Regions from separate parts of the Homo sapiens genome. Here all the other regions are linked to region 1. Evidence: promoter capture Hi-C in 16 types of primary human blood cells and fetal thymus (Javierre and others, 2016). All regions are on one chromosome and are shown on one strand. Each heading gives the region's core, a stretch centred on a gene start or on the middle of the fragment in contact. The rest is flanking DNA. Distances are from core to core; before and after follow the strand shown.

The links. The method cuts DNA at HindIII sites, captures the fragments that hold promoters and counts their contacts. A CHiCAGO score of 5 or more calls a contact.
Region 2: a fragment that was not itself captured here is called in contact with the fragment with the promoter of DEDD in region 1 in 1 of 17 cell types (neutrophils); the score reaches 5.8 in neutrophils.
Region 3: a contact is called between a fragment that was not itself captured here and the fragment with the promoter of DEDD in region 1, in 1 of 17 cell types (naive CD4 T cells). The highest score is 5.2, in naive CD4 T cells.
Region 4: a fragment that was not itself captured here is called in contact with the fragment with the promoter of DEDD in region 1 in 3 of 17 cell types (erythroblasts, naive CD8 T cells and naive CD4 T cells); the score reaches 6.7 in erythroblasts.
Region 5: a contact is called between a fragment that was not itself captured here and the fragment with the promoter of DEDD in region 1, in 1 of 17 cell types (erythroblasts). The highest score is 5.1, in erythroblasts.

What each region holds. Positions count from the first base shown.
Region 1 is chr1:161,131,351-161,134,061 of GRCh38, forward strand. It overlaps DEDD (death effector domain containing), which reads right to left and starts at 1,317. Exons shown (of 6, transcript NM_032998.3): 1 at 1,201-1,317. RefSeq lists enhancers at 187-1,010, 1,472-1,781 and silencers at 832-1,051, 1,102-1,451. The HindIII fragment of the contact is 8,185 bases long and covers 1-2,711 here.
Region 2 is chr1:160,668,419-160,671,129 of GRCh38, forward strand. It overlaps the pseudogene SETP9. Among named protein-coding and RNA genes, the nearest start is that of SLAMF1, 23 kb to the left of the region's middle. The HindIII fragment of the contact is 6,892 bases long and covers 1-2,711 here.
Region 3 is chr1:160,793,287-160,795,997 of GRCh38, forward strand. No RefSeq gene overlaps it. Among named protein-coding and RNA genes, the nearest start is that of LY9, 1.5 kb to the right of the region's middle. The HindIII fragment of the contact is 487 bases long and covers 1,092-1,578 here.
Region 4 is chr1:160,830,630-160,833,340 of GRCh38, forward strand. CD244 (CD244 molecule) reads right to left here. Exons shown (of 9, transcript NM_016382.4): 8 at 1,890-1,946; 9 at 1-798. The coding sequence ends at 718. Among named protein-coding and RNA genes, the nearest start is that of CD244, 31 kb to the right of the region's middle. The HindIII fragment of the contact is 4,367 bases long and covers 1-2,711 here.
Region 5 is chr1:160,863,027-160,865,737 of GRCh38, forward strand. No RefSeq gene overlaps it. Among named protein-coding and RNA genes, the nearest start is that of CD244, 1.5 kb to the left of the region's middle. The HindIII fragment of the contact is 2,876 bases long and covers 1-2,711 here.

The sequences.
Region 1 (2,711 bases), core at 67-2,566:
TGTTTCACCAGGGAAAAGTTTTTCTACATACAGTATCCATGTTACCCCCTCCCTTCCAGACTTAAAACAGCAAAAGGGTCTGGAAACTACAGCACTCATTTAATTAACCTGTCTAGATGCCACTCTATCTTTTCTCTTTCCCTCCTCAGACTTCCAGAGCCTCCACCTTAGCATATAGGGTTCCAATATAGCCATGTCTGCTCCCCCACTCTTGTATTGCTAATGCTAAAAACTAGAAAAGTCCTTTGCTCCTCCACACTTGGGCGACACCGGCTTCCCCATTTTCCCAAGCAGGAAAAACAAGGGAACAGTAAGCTAGGGAGTCTTTTGGAAAACAAACCCAGTTGAATTCTCATCCAACCCCAATTCTGCAAACCCACATGACCATTCCCTTCTGCCCTTCCCACCCTCTTAAAAGCTAAGGGCCTGGCAATTAGAATTGGCTGCAACTGATGCTGCTTAACTCTGTTCTCTCCTCCTCTCCACCGGGGAAAGGGAAACCCCCGAACCTCTATCACCCGTGCAGCTCCACTGTCCTATCTCCCATTCCACTCCCCTTCCTCCCAAACTTTCTTCCTCCCAGTCTCTCACTTTCTCCATTACCTCCTCCCACCGACACTCTCTCCATTCCCCAAGCCTCCGTTCTCTCCTTTTCCACCCAAATTCTCCCCTAGGCCCTTCCCCCTCCCACCTCCAATTTAACACTTTCGAAGCCCCCCAGAAACGTCTTAACTCCAATTCTGACCTTTACCCACCTCCTCGCAACACCCCTCATCAGAGTCCAGTCCTCCCTCCAACCACATGCCACAGCCCCCTTCCCCTTCACACCCTCAGCCTCTCCCTCCTGCTCCTACCCCCTTCAATACGAGCGGATCGCAGCCCCACTCCCCACCTCGGCCTCTCTAATACCCCTGGCTGGGCCCAGTCTCAGCCCTTGTTTACGCCCCTCCCCATGCCCTCACTCCTCCGTCTCGACCCCTGCCCTCTCCCGCAGTTGCCATCTCCCCTGCACGCCCCCCTCGGCAGCTCCCCTCCCCCACCTCTCAGCGTCCCGTCACCTCCCTCTCTTGAGGTTCTCAGGCTGGACGTCGCCACCGCCTCCCCCTCCACTTTCCTTCCCCAAGCCCTTTGCGGCCCCGCCCGGCCCCGCCCCGTCCCGCTCGACTCCCTCTCCCCACTCCGGCCGCCCCTCCGCCTCACTCTCGGCTCAGGCTCGGCGCCGCCATGTTGGATCCATCCGCGCCGCTCTCCCGGGCCTGCCTCACGGCGCCGCATCCGGGCTCCAGCAGCCGCCGCCGCCGCCGCCGCCGCGGCCGTGGGGGAGGGGACAGGCGGGCGGGGGTGGCTGCATCCTGAACGGCGCCTCCCGGAACCCGGCCGGTTAGTGGCGGCTTCGAGGCCATAGTGAGACATGAGCCGGAGTAGCCATAGTAAGTGAGGGCAGCCTGGCAGCGGCATTAATCGGGGAGTGGATAGCTTCACTTCGGGAGGAGAGATAGAGATTGGCAGCCATCTTGCTTTGGGGCAAGCTGGCAACGCCGGTTTGTCTTGACGGCTGCTTAGGGCGGTAATAAGGGATCGAAGAGGATAGCATTCTTGAATGGGAAACATTGGTGGCGCCACAGCTGGCTGGTGGCGACTTCAAGACCCACTGGAAGGCTGGGATTGGCAGCCATGACTCATAAGGGCGGAATACCACGGGGATCGGTTTGTCTGGCGAACTTGAGTGAAGGGTCAAGATCTGGATTTCACCTTTCCTCTGAGCTTCCTGATAACCCGGACGTTCCGTAAACCCGGATCCGGAGCCGAAAGTGGTGCCCAGATCCCGTCTCGGAATTCATTTGTTCAGCATTTACCTTTTGAACGCCGGTTTCCTGTAGGAAGTGTCGCCTAGCTGATCCGTGTAGGGCTGTTGGGAATTGGGGGTGGGGAGGATGGTGCGGGTACGTTCTGGTGTGGCTTAAGAAAGTGGTAATAGATAGGGGAAGACCAGATTATGCGAAGCCTTGTAAATTAATTGATTTTTATCCTTAAGGCAATGAAAAGTCTTTGAAGAATCTCAGCAGAGGTGTGAACAATTTCATTTGCATTTTAGATCGCTGCGTGCAGTGTGAAGGATGAATGAATTGAGGAGAATCAAGGAGAGCAGTTGTGAGGCTCTTTTCCAGGCAAGGATGATGATGGTCTGCCTGTGGAAGGGAGAGTGCGGATGGGGAGATACAGATTGGTTTAAGAGGTACGAATGTTGTGACTTGGACAACTGGGGAATAATGATACCAGTTTCTTTCTCGTTTAGGGGGGAGATAATGAGTTTTAGGTGCCCCTGGGATATTAGCTAATGTGGGTTGGGAACTCAAAAGAAAGGTTTGAGGTGTGTGTGCGTGTGCATATAGATAGCTGTTGAAGCCATGAAGTGGGCTGGAGAGGATACCTGCATTTGCGGGATAGGATGAGGGAAGCCGAAAAGAACACTGAGAAGGGGCAAACCGAAAGGAAAGAAGAAAACCATAGAGAACTATCAAGGAAACTGGTGAAAGCGTTTAGTGTAACAGAGATATAGTAAAATGCTAACTAAAATATATACATCAGGGCCGGGCATGGTGACTCACACCTGTAATCCTAGCTTTGGGAGGCCGAGGCGGGTGGATCACTTGAGGCCAGGAGTTCGAGACCAGCCTGACCAACATGGTGAAACCCTGTCTCTTCTAAAA
Region 2 (2,711 bases), core at 121-2,620, 460 kb before region 1:
AGGCATGAGCCACCACACCTGGCTAATTTTTTAAATTTTTTGGTAGAAACAAGGTCTCACTACGTTGCTGGTCTTGAACTCTTGAGGTCAAGTGATCCTCCTGCCTCAGCTTCTCAAAGTGTTAGGGTTACAAGAATGACCCACTAATCCCAGCCTATAGTTTCTTAAGGTAGGAGGTTAGATTATTGATTTGAGATCTTTCTGTTTTAATTTAGGCATTTACAGCTATAAAAGTTTCTCTAAGCATTGATTTCCTGCATCTCATAAGTTTTTGATATGTAATATTTTTAGTTTTATTCATCTCAAAGTATTTTGTAATTTCCCCTATGATTTATTCTTTGACCCATTGTTTTAGAAGTATGTAGCTTGATTTAGAAGTATGTAGCTTGATGAATTTTCCAAATATCCTTCTGTGATTGATCTATAATTTCACTCCATTGTGGTTAAAAACATACTTTTGACATTTCTGTAATTTTAGTCATTTCATATTTGTTGAGACTTGTTTTATAGCCCAACATATAGTCTATCTTGGAGAATGTTCCATGTGCATTTGAGAACAACAAACACATATTCTGCTGTTGTTGGGTAAAGTGTCCTATAGACTTTGGTTAAGTTTAGTTGGTTTATAATGTTGTTTAAGTCTTCTATTTCCTTGTTGATTTTATGTATAGTTGTTCAATCCATTATTGAAAATGGGATATTGAATTCTCCAGTTATTATTGTTGAATTGTCTATTTATCCCTTCAATTCAGTAAGTTTTTGCTTCATGTATTTTGGGGCTCTGTGCATATATATTAATAATTGTTATATCTTCTTGATGCATTAACTCTTATTATTATAAAATGTCCTTCTTTGTCTTTACAACAATTTTTGTCTTAAATCATATTTTGACTGATCTCAGTTTCTAAACCCAGCTCTCTTTTGGTTATTGCTTCCATAACATAATATACCTTTTTCCACCTTTTACTTTCAACCTATAGGTGTATTTGAATCTAAACTGTGTCCTTTGTACACAACATATAGTGGACCCATTTTTTTTAGTCCACTCTAATAACCTCTGCCTTTTATTTGTAATGTTTAATCCATTTATATTTAATGTAATTTCTGATATGGTAGGATTTATGTTTGCCATTTTCCTATTAGTTTTCTATAGGTTTTTTGTGTGTGTGTGTTCTTCTCTTTCTTTATTAGTGCCCTCTTTTGTATTAAATATATTTTTTCTACTGTACACTTAAGTTCCCTTGTCATTTTTTTTTTTTTACTGTATTTATTTTCTTCATAGTTGGTTTGGAGGTTACAATGATCTTAATTGCAATAATATAATACTTTGTTCTCACACAGCTTTTTCTCCTGCCCACATTTTTTGCTGTTATTGTCATACAAATTACATCTTTATACATGTGTGTCATTAACACAGATTTATAATTATTGTTCTATAAAATTGTCTTTTAAATCAGATAAGAGAAAAAAATTACAAACAAAAACTACACTTATATTGTCTTTTATATACATTTTATGTATCATATGCCAGGGCAGCATGCGCGAGCAAGCGCTGGGAGAGCGAGCGAACGGGGAGCGGAGGCGGCCTGACCGAGTGAGTGCCAGCGAGTGTGGAGTTAGGGGAAGCCGCCTACCCCCGACCCGCTTCCCCATTCCTTCTCTCCCCGTTCCCGTTTCTCCCCCCAACCACCACACCCCGCCCCCCGCCCCCCGAACTCCAAGCAGCACCAAGTCTGTGCCAACGGCTAAAGTCAGTAGAAAGGAGCTCAACTCCAACCGCAACCGGGCAGACGAGACCTCAGAAAAAGAATAGCAAGCAGCAATTGAACACATTTGTGAAGTACAAAATGAAACAGACTTCATGAACAAGCCAGTGAGGAGAATTTGAAAGTAGAACAGAAATAGAACAAACTCTGCCAATCATTTTTTCAGAAGAGGTCAGAATTGATCATTGATGGCCCAAATCCCACATTTTTGGGTAACATCATTTGTCAACCACCCACGAGTGTCTGCACTGCTTGTGGAGGAGGATGAAGAGGCACTGCATTATATGACCAGAGTTGAAGTGACATAATTTGAAGATACTAAATTAGGTTACAGAATAGATTTTTATTTTGATGAACATCCTTACTTTGAAAATAAACTCCTCTCCAAAGAATTTCATCTAAATGAGAGTGGCGATCCATCTTCAAAGTCCACTGAAATCAAATGGAAATCTTGAAAGGATGTAACGAATCGTTCAAGTCGAACGAAGAATAAAGCCAGTAGGAAGAGGCAGCCTGAGGCACCAGAGAGCTTCTTGACCTGCTTTACTGACCATTCTGATGCAGGTGCTGGTGAGTTATGAGAGGTCATCACAGGTAGTACTTGGCCAAACCCATAACAGTGCTGCTTGGTTCCCAATGTGGATGATGAAGAAGAAGGAGAAGAACAAGATGATGATGATGATGAAGAAGAGGAAGGATTATAAGATATTGATGAAGAAGGGGATGAGGATGAAGGCGAAGAAGAGGAAGATGATGATGACGTTGAGGAAGGAGAGGAGGATGAAGGAGAAGATGACTAACAGAACACTGATGTTCTGAACAATTTTTTTTTTAATTTTCTCCAGTCCCTGGGAGCAAGTTGCAGTCTTTTTTCTTTTTTCCCCTCTTGTGCTCAGTCGCGCTGTTCTTGAGGTCTCTTTTCTCTACACCATGGTTTTCAACTTA
Region 3 (2,711 bases), core at 85-2,584, 340 kb before region 1:
CCACTTGAACACTGTGACATTCCCTAATTCTTCCCTCTACTGTGGCTGCAGCAGTTGATTTGATGTTGAATTTCTTTAGCTCCTAACATATATTTGTCTTTCCATCTAAGTGTAAAAAGCTTTGAGCTTGTCAAAATTCTACAGTCTTTCATATTCTTCCAATCTGTAGTAGCATATATATACTGCAAGTCAAGACAACATTAGAAATAAAGTCCAAAAAATGCAATTGTGTAAAATGCAGGGTCGTCTTAATTGCACAGTGAATGAAGTGTTGGTTGGGGGCTGGTGGTGAAGCAACACAGCTGAGTATGTGGTTGTGGCTGCCAGACCCAAATCTCAACCCAGGCTGGAGTCTGATGCTACCTGGAGGCAATGCCCAGTTGACAGGGGTGATTCTGGGCCTGTAGCTGGCGGGACTCCAAGGACAGTAGCAGGGATTTCAAAAATTTTCCAGTCAGTCACACCCACTTGCTGGGGTGGTTGAAGTATACTGAGAAGGACAACACTGGAGACGCCGGGGCCAGCATCACTGGATGTTGCTCCCTGATTCCCAATGCTAGTGCCTTTGCCTCCCTGTCCTGATGAGAATATTAGCCCTCCCCATGTGAGGACAGGGCACACTTAACAAATGCATCATACCAAAATTTATATTAATTTAGGTTTTACTATACTTAAATGATAATACTTAAATTGGATTTTGTGTATTATAAGGCTGTGTCCTCCTATGGTCACAACTTCAAAGGAGGTCATTTCAGTGATGTTACTTTCCTAAATCTCAGTTTTCTCATCTCTAAAATGGGGATAATTGGAGTATCATCCAAATAGGGTCTATCTTAGGATTAAAGGAGAAAACATATGTAAAGTTCTAAACACAGAGGCTCACTCATAGTAATTACCCAATAAATGTTAGTAATGATTTTTATTATTACCAATCTCTCTGAATTCCCTTCTGCCTTTGCCCTCGCCTCCCATGCAGACTGTTCCTGCTCTCATGTTCTGTACCCAGACTCCTTCAATAGCTTCCGCACCTGTCTTCTCATCCCCAGGCTCATCCCTTCCACCCATTCTCCCTCCACTCTGCAGCTCCAGGAAGCTTCCTACTCCTACTGGATTCTTGTTGCCTTTAGCTTGGTAACAGGATGCTTTATCTGGGCTCTGGTAACCTCTCCTGACCGTATGTCCTGCAATCCCCTCTAGACAGCCCATGTTCTAGTCACAGGACCAAGGCTAGAGTGAAACAAGACACGCTCCTAGTGCACAAAATTTAAAGATTTTCGAGATTCTGTCACTTTCAATATTGTGCAACATCAGATCATGACCAGCCTCTAAAGATGCTTTCCATGGACATAAGCCTGTTATCTTAATGGTTTCTCTCTCTCTCTCCCTTCTTCCTTTGAACCCAGACTTCCTGGGTTCAAGTCCTTACTAACTATAAAACTTATAGTAAGCTATTTAACCCCTCTCCACCTCAGTTTTCTCATTTATAGAATGGGGATGATAAAAGATATCTCATAAAACTATTGTAAGATCAAATGAGTGAATATGTTAAAGTGTCAGAAGATGGACTAGCACTCTGTAAGCTTTCATCGAATATTAGCTAAAACTACACATTCTGCCAGCCTCAAGTTTTCCTGCCAAGTCCCCTTAATGTTACAGCCTAAGTAAACAAATGACCTGAAGCCCGAAACACAAACCATAGCATGGCCAGCTATTACGCTACTGACAAGAAGAAGGAGGAGAAAAAGACAGTTTCCCAAGTCAGGATATAGGGAATCATGCCATTCTCCAGCCTACCTTTTCAACTCAGTCACCTCTACGCTGTCACATACGATGTCCACCCCCATTGCAGTCTCCCTGATGCCTTTGTCCATATTAAAAGTCCTTCATTGCATGTGACAGAAAGCTAGCACAAACTGCCTTGAGCAAAATAGAAAATGTATTGGGTCACTGTATTAGTTATCTGTTGCTGTGTAACAAATTGCCCCAAACTTCACAGCTAAAAACAATAAGCATTTTTGATGAAAAATAAAAAATTGAAAAAAAATTTAAAAACCAAACATTTATTATCTCACAGTTTCTCTTGATAAGGAATCTGGGCATGGCTTAGCTGGGTGCCTCTGGCTTAAGGTACTCACACAACTAACATCACGGTGTCAGCCAGGGCTGCAGTCATTTCAAGGACCTCCTGGGGAGGATCCACTTCCAGTCTCACTCATGTGATTCTTGGCTAGCCTCAGTCCTCATGGACAGTTGGCCAGAGGAATCAGCTCCTCGCCGATTGTTGGCTGGGGGCCTCCCTCTGTTCTTTGTTTTGGAACCCTCTCCCTAAAGTATCTCACAAAACAATACCTGGCTCCCCTCAGTGTAAGGTAGGGAGACAGAGATAGTGGGAAAGACAGAGAGGGAGAGAGGGCAAGAGAAAGAGAGAGCGCATATGCACACACATGCTAACCCAAGATGGAAGTCACAGCTTTTTTGTAACCTAATCTCAGAAGTGACCCATCCCACATCTCTGCCACATTCTATTCACTTGAAGCAAGTCACTAAATCCAGGCCACACTAAAGAAGAGGTGATTACACAGAGGCATGAATGCCAGGAGGTACAGATCTTTAGCAGTCACCTTTAGGAGCCAAATTTAGAACCCAAGTCCCTTGATGTCAAAGCAAGTGATGCTCCACATCAGTCACAAATGAGGCCCTGAATAGACTTG
Region 4 (2,711 bases), core at 155-2,654, 300 kb before region 1:
AAAGCTGGTCTCAACACCCCAGTTATCAGGTCAGCATGTGCTCTGGGTGATTTTTCTACTTAGAGATGGGCTTGCTTTGCACCATCTACTCTCCCTTCAGCCCACTCCCCCTGGTGGCCAACTGGCCAGAGGTAAAGGTATGAGATGCAGGGAGAAAGTTTTTTCTCTGCAATTGAGTAAAGCCCAGGCCCTGGCCCCCACCCACGTGCAGAACCTGCCAGCCAGTTCACAGCCGGACAGTCCAGGCTTTCAGAGGAGGGCTGTTTCTTCTTCCCCTGAGTCACCATTATCATTCCTTCCTCTTGCTTTGGAAGATGGGCCTGGGCCGGCGAGAGTCTAGAAATGCAGTCAACCCAGAGAGGGGAGAAAAGGAAACAAGTGACAGCTTGAAAATCAGGTGGAGGGAATCTCGATGCTAATAACATCACTTACATAACACTTTCTAGATTACAAATACTTGGAATGTGGCCTTTTGTGAACAACCTAACCCCTCCACCCATTCATGTCTGATCTGTAAATTGGAAGATATTATTTAACAGCCTTGCTCTTATCATGGTTGTTAGACATCATTTTCAAAACAAAATATAGAACAAGAACAAATTTCCATATCCTCTCCAGACTAGGAACTGTTCTATAGAGACTCCTGTGCCGTCATCCACTGTGCCAATTCCCAAAGCAGATGCTGATGTGCAAGAAAGGTGAGAATTGCTGCAGCAACTAGGAATAAACATCAAAGTTCTCCAGCTCTTTGCGGCTCAATCGAGCAGGGTTCTGGGCTTTAGGTTGACTCTTTCCAATCTGCAAAAGAAAAGGAGAAACTTCAGACCCTTGCACTGGGAGGTCCTTATCACAATCCTGTGAGGTATGACTTGCCATCCCCATTTTACAGATTTAAAAAATGAAGCTCAGAGTGACAAAACAAATTACTCAGGATCCACGACTAGTGTGAAGTGCAGGAGGGACTTGAATCTAGTTCTTCTGGCTCCAATTCCAGTACTCTCTTAACCACATATGCTTTTTCATGACCTCACAAGCTACCTGGGTCTACACAGTGCCCTCTATGACCCTGGGTTGTCCAGTTGGCTTTAATGTTGGGTGATAGCTGAAGTGCCAGGAATTCCAGCAGGCAGCCACCCATCCCTCCCTTCTGACCAATGGCAGCATCTTTATTGGACCACAGGTGGGGAGGCTCAGGTGTAGTATGAGGCTAATGGGTAGTGGGGGAGGTTGGGGGATGCTCTCCATGCCTTAATTTCTCTGAGTATAAATGGAAAGTATAATTATACCTATCTTGTAGCATTCTGTGAGGACTAAATAAAATAATCCATGTGAAGACACTGGCAGGCTACCTTATCCATAATAAACCCCCAAGAAATGTTGAGTCCCTCCTTTCCAGTCCCTAAATGCTCTGATGGGAATCAATTCAACCACCAGGCTCAGTGGTCATCTCTGAACAGTGTTGACCCCTGAAGAAGATTAAGCTCACCTATGTCCTGGAATGGCTCCCAAAGACTTGCTAATTTTAGAAAATCATTTAGAGTCCTTTATCTTCCCCTCTCTGACCCCTCCTCCGAACACTCTTGGAAAGGAGAGATGTCCAGTTTGTGGCCCACAGCCTGGGAACTAGCTCGGGGACGGCCCTAATTTAAAACCCAAGCTGCCCAGTAAGTATCATATCTAAACACGCAATATGATCTTGGGTCAGACCCTCACTCTCCTTGGGCTTCAGTGTCTTCATCTCTAAAACAAAGACTTGCATTAGAAGATCTCTAAATTCCCTACAACTCTGAGACTGTGTGAATGATCTTTTCCTAAGTGTACCCTTTCATGGCTAGATTTCAGGGCTATGCAACAGACAGTAAACCCATTGAGGAGTTCCAGAATCTTACCACTTCATAGATAGTGCTATTGAAGGAAGGGCTGTGGTTCCTCTTCCTGGATCCAGACTAGAAATTCAGAAGGTAAAGAATACTTAACTTCGAGATAAGTGCTCTCCCACTCCTAAGTGATGTGAGAGGTCCCAAAAGAGACTCAGGGCCCAGAAAAATTCTGAGGCACTCTCAGCCAGAAAATGAATAGAATCTGTCACCCTAGGAGCAAAACAATGGTGTTTATGGTCTCCAGGGAAGACACAATATATACAGTATTTGCCTATAATATGATATTTCTGAACCAAAATCAGAATTTGCTGTTCCATACCCACATACACCTAAAACCCATACACATATGTGTGTGTGTGTGTATATATATATATATATACACACACACATATATATACATATTTGTGTATATATATACACACACACATTCCCAGAGCACACACACATACACATACACATACACATACACATACACACATATCCCTCAGGCAATCCTAATGCAAATACTGCCCCAAACCATGTATCTCTTCAACGCATGCATACACACACCCTTAATGTAAACAATCCAGGCATATAAATAATTGCCAACCCAAGGACACTAGAATTCAGAGGCACATTCAGTAGCATATAGAGTTTACATACACCAAAGCAGGTGAACATGGTGCCTGTGAACATCTATATGGCCTTATATTGTAGCATATAATTAAAAACAAATCTCTCTCACGATGGGATCCAAGTAGGTTGAATGGCTTATTGGAAGGAGGTTGAATGAAAAGTCTGAAAATCTGTCCTAAACCCCTTCAAACCTGTGGTCCCTGACCTGCATGGACT
Region 5 (2,711 bases), core at 77-2,576, 270 kb before region 1:
CTATATGGAGAGACCCCCATGGGGGCCAAACAGCCAGTATCCCCAACTGTTCCATTCCAACAGACATTGTGGAGGTGGAGTGGAGAGGGGCTGGAGGAGGAGTGGGCTGAAACGTAGGGCCCTGGATAAGCGGCTAACAGTGTTGAAGGAAAGGAGGAGTAGCTGAGAGAACATAGGAAGAGACCTAAGGGCTGGAGGCACTAGAAAAATCTAGCAAGCCTGGGGATTCCATGCAAGTTGACACCAAAGTTTAAGCACATGTAAATTAAATTTGTTTCATAAGAATTTGTTTCACACGGGGCACAGTGGCTCACGCCTGTAATCCCAACACTTTGGGAGACTGAAGCAGGCAGATCACTTGAGATCAGGAGATCGAGACTAGCCTGGCCAATATGGTGAATCCCCACCTCTACTAAAAATAGAGAAATTAGCCAGGCTGGGTGGCGTGCACCTGTAATCCAAGCTACTTGGGAGGCTGAGGCAGGGGAATCACTTGAGCAAAGGAGGTGGAGGTTGCGGTAAGCCAAGATCACGCCACTGCACTCCAGCCTAGGTGACAGAGCGACACTGTGTCTCAAAAAAAAAAAAAAAAATTTTGTTTTGCTCCACATTTCCGATCTGTATGCCTAGATTCCCTCCCTTCCTCTTTTTCTACTTTTCTATAGTAGTCCTCTCTTCCCTCTTTTGTCTTCTCCCAGAAGTGACATGGGCCTATTTTTGCTGCCTTCCCATCCATGCTTGGACGCCACCCTCCAGGAAGGCCAGGCAGCTCTGGATCTGCTTAGGCCCCCATGGAGGGGTGGGGACAGCGGCATCCCCCCTCCCCTGGAACACTGTGCTTCAAGGCCAGGCCCCAGGGTTCATGCCTCTTTCTTTCTTCCTTCTGCTTTCCCCTTAACAAATACTTTCAGTTCCCTTCAAGTCCGCTCTTATTCTCTTTTTCCATCCTTTGGTCCATTTCCAGCCACCCTGTCTGAACTGGGCAGGGGGCAGCAGACTGACAGCTTCAGCTGCCAACAGAGGCAGCAGCGGGGCTCTGGACAGAGCGCTGGATTTAGAGTCAAAGACTTGGACTTGCAGCTCCCATTCAGCAACTTACAACCTATGTGATTCTGGCCTTGTTGCTGTCTGAGCCTGTAGGGTCAACAATACATCCTCCCCACCTTCACAAGGCAGTTTTCAGGATCAAATTAAAAATGATACTCCAGAATATGCACACAAAAAACACTGGACATAGATGAGGTTTTTGTGGTTTTGTTTTCATTTTTTTAAGCTCTGAATAGCTTTTTCCAGCGGGTCTAATGGTTATCATCTCTTCTCTCCTTTGTCTGCTCCCAAGGGGCAGCCCTCAACCCTGGGGAATTTCTTCAGAGTTGATCTGGCCATGTCCTTAACCTTGAGAAGTGGTGCACAAGACATGATATAACAAAGAAGGGTAAACTTCCTCACACGACAGGTGGAAAACAAGATCCAGCTGTTGGAACCCACTAATGAATGTGAATTAGGAATCAGCCTCTCCAATCCTGACCCCAACACCAGCTCCATCCTTCCCACCAGGCATGTGGATGACCTATCATCCCCTGGAAACAGAACTCGGAGCAGCTGTACCACTGAGTGTGTGTCTGTCTTGTGGTCCCTGACAAACTCTATCACACAATATCTGCTATTTGTAGGCTGATCGCAGTGGCTCATGCCTATAATCCCAGCACTTTGGGAGGCCAAGGCAGGTGGATCACTTGAGGTCAGGGGTTCGATATCAGCCTGGCCAACACGGTGAAACCTCATCTCTACTAAAAATACAAAAATTAGCCGGGTGTGGTGGTGTGTGCCTGTAATCCCAGCTACTCGGGAGGCTGAGGCAGGAGACTCCTTTGAACCTGGGAGGCAGAGGTTGCAGTGAGCTGAGATTGTGCCTCTGCACTCCAGCCTGGGAGACAGAGCAAGACTCTGTCACAAAAAAAAAAAAAAAAAAAAAGGTGCTGGGCGCAGTGACTCACACCTGTAATCCCAGCACTTTGGGAGGCCTAGGTGGGTGGATTACCTGAGGTTAGGAGTTTGAGACCAACCTGGCTAACATGGTGAAACCCCGTTTTTACTAAAAATGCAAAAAATAAGCCAGGTGTGGTGTTGCATGCCTGTAATCCCAGCTACTTAGGAGGCTGAGGCAGGAGAATCATTTGAACCCAGGAAAAGGAGGTTGCAGTGAGCCGAAATCACGCCATTGCATTCCAGCTTGGGCAACAAGAGCAAAAACAAACAAACAAACAACAATAATAAAAAAAAAAAACAACCTGCCATTTGTTCTACACACTGACCTCCCCAGCCCTGAGCTCTTCAACACAAAGTCTATGCTCTCCTTAGCTTAGTGTTTCCAAGCCTCACCCAGCGCCTGGTTCTTCAGAGTTGATTCGTAGATTGTCAAGTGCTGAAGGAATGAATGAATTCTCTAAGGAAGACATTTCTATTTCCCCTGAGATAGACTGGTTAGCTGAGTCACCATGGACCCTGCCCTCGTGGAGTTTTTATCTTGCCCTTCCTAATTTTTGTGCAGAGAGTCCTTCTGTGCAACTCAGCCACTTTAGCACGAGGACCCAAGACCTACAAAATCAATATAAACCAGAGACTCCCTTAGCTACATTTCCCATACATATTCACGAGATCTTTATAAGTCTGGGACAGGGGACTCAGACAGGGGCATTTAAAGGTTAGCG